Linked DNA regions of Homo sapiens: all the other regions are linked to region 1. Evidence: promoter capture Hi-C in human tissues and cell types (Jung and others, 2019). All regions are on one chromosome and are shown on one strand. Each heading gives the region's core, a stretch centred on a gene start or on the middle of the fragment in contact. The rest is flanking DNA. Distances are from core to core; before and after follow the strand shown. Region 1 holds the start of USP8 (ubiquitin specific peptidase 8). Region 2 has its middle 10 kb from the start of MIR4712. Region 3 overlaps USP8 (ubiquitin specific peptidase 8).

Region 1 (2,547 bases), core at 17-2,516:
TTTTTTTTTTAAACTACTACAGGGTCTTCACTAATATTAAAGATGCATCCAATGTGTCACAAGAAAAGGAATACATATTTCAAAGCAGCCATATCAACATGATAAAGACATAACACAACCGATATCACCTTCCAGATATGCTTAATAGTCCAGGGATATGCTGTAAGGAGAAACTACCCAAATCCATCATGAATGACATTCACCAACGAATCTTAAACAGAATCGGCTGAAATGCAAAAATCTGCTTACATAGCAAAGCCGCAGCAGAGCAAGCCTAAAACAGGAATACTTCCTTAACAAATACCACTTGGCATTTTTAATGGCTGCAGCAAGATATTTACAAAACTAACGATGCTTTGCAGATTCAGAAAAGGTAACATCCTTTAGATATAAATCCCTTTCATCTGAAACCCTCAGGTCTCTTAACAAATACTAAATTCCTTAGGCTCTGCAACACCTCCGTGTCAGGTAAATTTTTTGTTAGTGATTAAGTGACTTGTTCAAGGTCACAGAATGAACTGGAGGCAAGAAATAAACCCAGGAGGGTGGTCTGCAGCTTTATAATGCACATCACTGCTAGTAAGGATTCTGATAATTTCCAAGGTGGAGTGGCGGTGAAATTAACTTGTCCCACAACTCTAGGATGGAAGGCACTTTTTAGGGGAAAAAAAAAAAATCTTCTATTTGAGGAAGTCATAGTTTTAACTCTGACAAGCTTATAGGGTCTTTAAACTCAAACTTCACTAAAATCAAGTGTGACTGGGGAAGAAGAGAAACTGGGAAACAGTTTTAGGAGCTACAGTAAGGCCTGGGATTGTAGGCAGATTGCAGAAAAAAAAAAAAACCGGAAGCAAGAGGAAAGAGGTCAAAGTCGGGTATAAGTGTCCAAGAGAACGGAAGATTGGTCAAAGCCACCTTTTAAAACCAAAAAAACACACGAAACTCGCTTGGCAATCCTAGGTAGATGGCGTAAAAGACTCAAGGTTGGGCCTTTCCTCTCCACAAGCTGATTCTACCTTTAGGAGTTGTCCCACTCCTCTCCGCGGACAGAGCTTGTCTCCGGGGTAACCAGCAGCTGGTGGAAGGAAAGGCGTTCATCGTTCACAGCGGACGACTTCCCAGAGAACAGGTGCTAGGGCCCAAGACCCGCACTCACCGTGACGCCGGGCGCGCTTCACTAACGCCAGCCTTCTCGCCAAATGCCCATCTCCCAAGAACTCGAGGGAGAATTAGCCTTGGCTACCAGGACGGAAGCCAGCCCAGCTCACCCCCTTTTCCCGATTTGCATTGCGAGGCGACGCGTCGCGTCTCCAGACGTCACGGCAGGGGCGGGGCTTCGCGTGCGCTCCCTTGACTCCTCTCTCTTCCACCGCCCTCCCCTTTTCGGTGAGGGCCGCGGGGCGAGGGATGGTCGAGGGAGGGTCGAGGAGGACGTTATGGGTGGGCGGTGGCGGCAAGGGCGGGGTTTCTCTGAGTCGGGTCAACATAGTTGGCCGGTCCCTTACCCCCCGCACTGCACCCTGCATTTCCGGGTTGCAAGGCGGCGCCTGGGCCTTGTTGTGGAAGAAGCAAGGTTGCTCTTGCGTCCCTTTACTACGTTATTTTCCTCCTCAGATTGGAAATTAGAAAAAAGGGGATTTAACGCCCCTCTATTTCTGGCTAAACATTCTCTGAAGCCAAGCCTTTGGTCAAAGAAAAACAAGTATTATCCTAAAACATATTTTATGTACAATTTTTAACGTCACTTAAAAGGCCCCGGCGAGGCTGGGCACGGTGGCTCACGCCTGTAATCCCAGCGCTTTGGGAGGCCGAGGCGGGCAAATGATGAGGTCAGGAGTTCGAGACCAGCCTGGCCAACATGGTGAAACCCCCGTCTCTATTAAGAATACAAAAAATTAGCTTGGCGTGGTGGCGTGCGCCTGTAATCCTAGCTACTCCAGTGGCTGAGGCAGGAGAATTGCTTAAACCCGGGGAGCGAAGGTTGCAATGAGCCGAGATCGCGCTACTGCACTCCAGCCTGGGCAGCAGAGCAAGACTCCGTCTGGTTGGGCGAAGGCCCCGTGTAATAGAAACGAAATGAGACGTCTGAACTTTCTCGCGAGCTGATCTTTGTACTCTCTTAGAGAAAGGTGATTGGATGCTCCGGTTGCCTGTAAACATAAAATTGACTTGGGTGGAGCTTTAGGCAGTAGTCACTAAGTCCTCAGGAACATTCCAGGTGTCTCAGGGATGGGAAATCTGGCTAGCGAGGTCTAGTAAATGCTTTAAGTGAAAGTGTGTGCCACATGGTACAGTGTACACTGCTCGGGTGATGGGTGCACCAAAATCTCAGAAATGACCACTAAAGAACTTTTCCATGCAACCTGTTCCTCCAAAACTACTGAAATAAAAATTTTTAAAAATAAAAAAGGATAAAATAAAGAAAGTGTGTTCAATGAATTTGTGATGAAGGCCAGGTTGCAGTGGCCCAGGCCTGTAATCCCAGCACTTTGGGAGGCTGAGGCAGGAGGATCCCTTGATCCCAAGAGACAGAGACCAGCTTGAGCA
Region 2 (2,547 bases), core at 24-2,523, 54 kb after region 1:
ATCTCGGGCCACTGCAACCTCCACCTCCCGGGTTCAAACGATTCTCCTCCCTCAACCCCCCGAGTAGTTGGTATTACAGGCACCTGCCATCATGCCTGGCTAATTTTTGTATTTTTAGTAGAGATGGGGTTTCACTGTATTGGCTAGGCTGGGATTGAACTCCTGACCTCAGGTGATCCACCCACTTCGGCCTCTCAAAGTGTTGGGATTACAGGCGTGAGGTACCGCACCCGACCGATTTTGCTATTCTTGACCTGCATATTACTTATCTTGAATCTACATTTTCTCATTTGTAAAACCAGGGGTAACACCTACCTTGCAGAGATTAAATGAGAAATCTACATGAAAGCATTTAATAGTTGATGAATAAATGCATAAGTGGAGTCAAATGTGTAGTAACATCCAGTATTTTAATATTTATGCTTGATAAGTCATTTAAGTTGAAGACTCTTTATGTATTAATTTCAGCAAGTAACATAACCACACAGAATAGACAATGAAAGCATAATTAGTCATTATACACAATTATAATTTGATAAAAAATTTCAACATATACAGAAGTATAAAGAATGTGTATCTATCATGCAGCTTCTACAATTATCATTCCAACTCCTCGTTTCTTTGATATTGCCAACAATTTACACCCTGCCCCAATTCCAAATTTGGAAACAAGTCCCAGATATTAATATAATTTCCTCTTCAACATTTCAGTATGCCTGAGAGATTCTTGTTTAAAAAAAACATTTTTTTGAGGGGCACAGGGTCTCTCTCTGTCACCCAGGCTGGAGTGTAATGGTGCGATCTTGGCTCACTGCAACCTCTGCCTCCCAGGCTCAAGCAATTCTCCTGGTTCAGCCTCCCAGGTAGCTAGGACTACAGGCGCACACCACTGCTCTAGGACTGTGTACTCTTTTAGAGATGGGGTTTCACCATGTTAGCCAGGCTGGACTCAAACTTCTGAGCTCAGGTGATCCGCCCACCTTGGCCTCACAAAGTGCTGGGATTACAGGCATAAGCCAGGGTGCCAAGCCTTGTTTTAAAATTTAATCTTTATGCTCTGAATGGAAAGGCTATAAATGGAGTTCAATGAAAGGAAAAAACATTTAAAAAATAGAAGTTCTTTCTTTCTTCTTTTTAAGATGGAGTCTTGCTCTGTTGCCCAAGCTGGAGTGCAGTGGCACGATCTCAGCTCACTGCAGCCTCCCCTGGGTTCAAGTGATCCTCCTGCCTTAGCCTCCCAAGTACCTGGGATTACAAGCGTGCACCACCAGGCCTGGCTAATTTTTTGTATTTTTAGTAGAGATGGGGTTTCGCCGTGTTGGCCAGGCTGGTCTGGAACTCCTGGCCTCAAGTGATCCATCTGCCTCGGCCTCCCAAAGCACTGGGATTACAGGTGTGAGCCACTGTATCCAGACAAAAATAAAATTTAATCATAACATCATTCTAATAATAAAACATCACAGCCAAACAAAATTAATGATTCCTTGGTATCATTAAATATCCAGTTAATCCCACATTTAATACCACTTACAGCCCATTATTACTTTTGTTATATTATCACAGCCAGTTCCAAAACTTATAGCCCATTAAGTGTATGAGTTTACACCTGCATTTATATTATCTCTGATTTCTTTTTTTTTTTTTTGAGACAGAGTCTCACTCTGTTGCCCCAGGTTGGAGTGCAGTGGCGTGATCTTGGCTCACTGCAACCTCCACCTCCTGTGTTCAAGCAATTCTCTTGTGCCTCAGCCTCTTGAGTAGCTGGGATTACAGGCACACACCATCACGTCCAGCTAATCTTTTGTATCTCTAGTAGAGATAGGCTTTTGCCATGTTGCCCAGGCTGGTCTTGAACTCCTGGCCTCAAGTGATCCACCTGCCTTGGCCTCCCAAAGTGCTGGGCTTATAGGCATGAGCCACTATGCCCAGCCTCTGATTTCTTTTTTCTTTTTTTTGAGGCAGAGTCTTGCTCTGTTGCCCCGGCTGGAGTGCAGTGACACGATCTTGGCTCACTGCAACCTCCACCTCCCGGATTCAAGCAATTCTCCTAACTCAGCACCCAAGCAGCTAGGATTACAGGCATGCACCAGCACGCCCGACTAATTTTTGTATTTTTAGTAGAGACGGGGTTTTGCCATGTTGGCCAGGCTGGTTTCTAACTCCCGACATCTGGTGATCTGTCTGCCTGGGCCTCCCAAAGTGCTGGGATTACAGGCGTGAGCCACCTTGCCCGGCAAGCAGCCTCTGATTTCAACTCAAGAGACAGAAGAGGATCCCAAATTCCAAGCAACTCCCAAGATGCAAATCAAAATATGGAAATGTTAAACAAATTGAAGGATTTCCCAATAGTTACCTGCAACACCTAAAGGTCACTGTTTCCAAATGGTGCAAGAACTATGCAAACAATATGTTGGTTGCTGTTAAATTCAAGGACAGGACACTATTAACAGTTATAACATTTTTGTATGGACCTTTATGAATCTGTGGGAAACTAGAGACGCGCTGTCTTAGCTTAGGATGCCATAAAACTACCATGGGCTTAAATAA
Region 3 (2,547 bases), core at 21-2,520, 40 kb before region 1:
CACCAATAGGAGAAAACAGCCAAATCAAAAGTTGGCAAATCCGTAACTTCAACCTTCAAAAAGGGTGGAGTGTGTCTTTAAGAAGCAAAGATTTAGGGAAATCCCACTTGGGCACCCCTCACTCTCAAAAGTGAGAGAGCAGTTCTTCTTTCTCTTTCTTTTGCCTATTAAACCTCTGCTCCTAAAATGTACCTCCCCCTCCCCTCCCCCACCACCCACACACATAAAAAGAGGCAAAGATTTAAAAAGTTACCAGGAAAAGACTACTTTATCACATTTAGCTTGGATGCTAAGTAGTAACATTTACTAAGGTCCACAGTTTACTACTTACTACACAGTTTACTACTTTACTACACAATAACCCACCCTGGACTGATGGCTTCTTCAGGAACACTGAGAGAATGTAAAATACAGGAATCCTGATAATCCTGCATTCTTCGAGCATCCATTATAATCAAGCTGATGTTTTTATCCGTCATCATTGTGTATAGTTCCTTTGCTGTGATTGCTCCTTGGAATTGAGAGAGACAGTGTAAGTGACAAGAAACAGCACAAGATGTGCTGACATCACAAAACACAGGACAAACCGCTTTTTCTAGAAGAGCAAAGTATACTGAATATATATGGATGCCACATATTTACTACTCCATCATACCATTTATTATCTTGTAAACTAACATTAAATACAACTTGTTTTTTTTCTTGAGACAGGGTCTCGTTCTGTAACCCAGGCTGGAGTGCAGTGGCATGATCTCAGCTCACTGCAACCTCCACCTCCCAGGTTCAAGTGATTCTCCTGCCTCAGCCTCCTGAGTAGCTGGGAACACAGGCTGTTACCACGCCTGGCTAATTTTTGTATTTTTAGTAGAGATGGGGTTTCACCATGTTGACTAGGCTGGTCTGGAACTCCTGACCTCAAGCGATCTGCCCACCTTGGCGTCCCAAAGTGTTGGGATTACAGGCGTGAGCCACCACATACCTGACCTTGTGTTTTTAACATTTATCAAGAAACCAGTTCGATGCTCTGTTTACAAAGACTTAAAAATCAAAACTTTCTGTTGAGTTTACAGCTACACCTGGTATTGACTCTGTTACCAACATAAAATAAAGAACATTAATATATGTGTCTCAGGAAAATAGTATGTTTTCAAAAATTAAGACATTAGAAAAATGCTAACTGGAAGAAAGAAATATCTATGGTTCTAAAATTCTGGAAAAGTTCTAAATTCAAAAGGTCTCTGATGGCAGTCTTACGGTAGCTTTTTGAAAAACTTAGATATCCAAGTATTCTTAGAATAACAAGTCAAAAGCTTGCTATTCTACATCAGAGGTTGAAAAACTATGGCCATCTGTTTTTACTGGATCACTGCCACACTAGTTTGTTTACACATTTTTTCATACTGCAACAGCAGAGATCAATAGTTGTGTCAGAGACCACAGGACTCTCCAAGCCCATAAGGTTCCCCAAGCCTAAAATGTTTACCATCTATCCCTTTAAGAAAAATTTGCCAATTGTCATTCTACTTGATGTTCATTTGTTAGCTCCCAGCCAGAAGGAAAAAAGATTATTTTGTTTTCTAAGAAGGCTAACAAAAAGGAAACTAAGTAAAGCTAATGCAATATTTAATTTATTTACTTTTGGGGGAGGGCAGCAATCTGTCAAAATAAATATTCCCTATGTTACTATTTTTCCTTAGCTCTACTGAAGTGAAAGATTAAAAGGCACTACAAGAGAGTTGAGATTATATAATAAGCTGTTTCAGCAGTGAGCTGTGAGAAGAAAAGTAGTCTCAGTAGCTCCTATGCTAAAAGACCTATAGCTGCTAACAATCGTCCTCCTTCCATCTCTAGCCATCAAGTGTATGCTAACAAAACAGACTAAAAAAGTTGTTAACAAACCACTGAGAAGGACAACATTTAAGCAGGATGACATACAAAGGAACAAATGCATAAAAACTAATCTTGGAATGAATCAGTAACAGCTTTTAGGGAAGTACCTTATAGCACACTCAGTTTACTTTTGTAATTGTTGTATGGCAATATTTTAAGTAGAGAATTTATTTTACTGTTACCTATAATTATGTTTAAGTTCAACCTTTTCTCTGATCCAAGTACTAACCAGGCCTGACCCTGCTTCGCTCCCGAGATCGGGCGCGTTAGGTGGTATGGCTGTAGACAAGGTAAACCTTTTCTGAGAGAGGAAAACGTCTCTAGCAGATGAAGAGGAATTCCAAAGTCTTGTTTAGGTCACATATTTGTCACTAGAGCATCAACGCCACCTATGGATAATTTCCATATTACTGGTTTGGATTTGAGACAGGGTCTCACTGTCATAGGCTGCAGTACAGTGGTGTGATCGTGGCTCACTGCAGCCTCAACCTCCCGGGCTCGAACAATTCTCCCACCTCAACCTCCTGAGCAGATGGGACTAAGGGCATCCACCACCACACCCAGCTAATTTTTGTATTTTTTGTAGAGACAGGGGTTTCACCATGTTACCTAGGCTGGTCTTGAACTCCTGGGCTCAAGCAATCCTCCTTCCTGAGC

The links. Contacts are between HindIII fragments. The study calls those that stand out against the background at their distance.
Region 2: a fragment that was not itself captured here is called in contact with the fragment with the promoter of USP8 in region 1 in 1 of the 25 tissues and cell types used here (ovary).
Region 3: a contact is called between a fragment that was not itself captured here and the fragment with the promoter of USP8 in region 1, in 1 of the 25 tissues and cell types used here (mesenchymal stem cells).

Annotation. Positions count from the first base shown.
Region 1 is chr15:50,423,124-50,425,670 of GRCh38, reverse strand. USP8 (ubiquitin specific peptidase 8) reads right to left here and starts at 1,266. Exons shown (of 20, transcript NM_005154.5): 1 at 1,157-1,266. RefSeq lists enhancers at 1,019-1,408, 1,447-2,443 and a silencer at 1,519-1,568. The HindIII fragment of the contact is 18,008 bases long and covers 1-2,547 here.
Region 2 is chr15:50,369,188-50,371,734 of GRCh38, reverse strand. No RefSeq gene overlaps it. Among named protein-coding and RNA genes, the nearest start is that of MIR4712, 10 kb to the right of the region's middle. The HindIII fragment of the contact is 3,399 bases long and covers 1-2,547 here.
Region 3 is chr15:50,463,011-50,465,557 of GRCh38, reverse strand. USP8 (ubiquitin specific peptidase 8) reads right to left here. Exons shown (of 20, transcript NM_005154.5): 7 at 367-511. It also overlaps the pseudogene RNA5SP395. Among named protein-coding and RNA genes, the nearest start is that of USP8, 40 kb to the right of the region's middle. The HindIII fragment of the contact is 3,549 bases long and covers 1-2,547 here.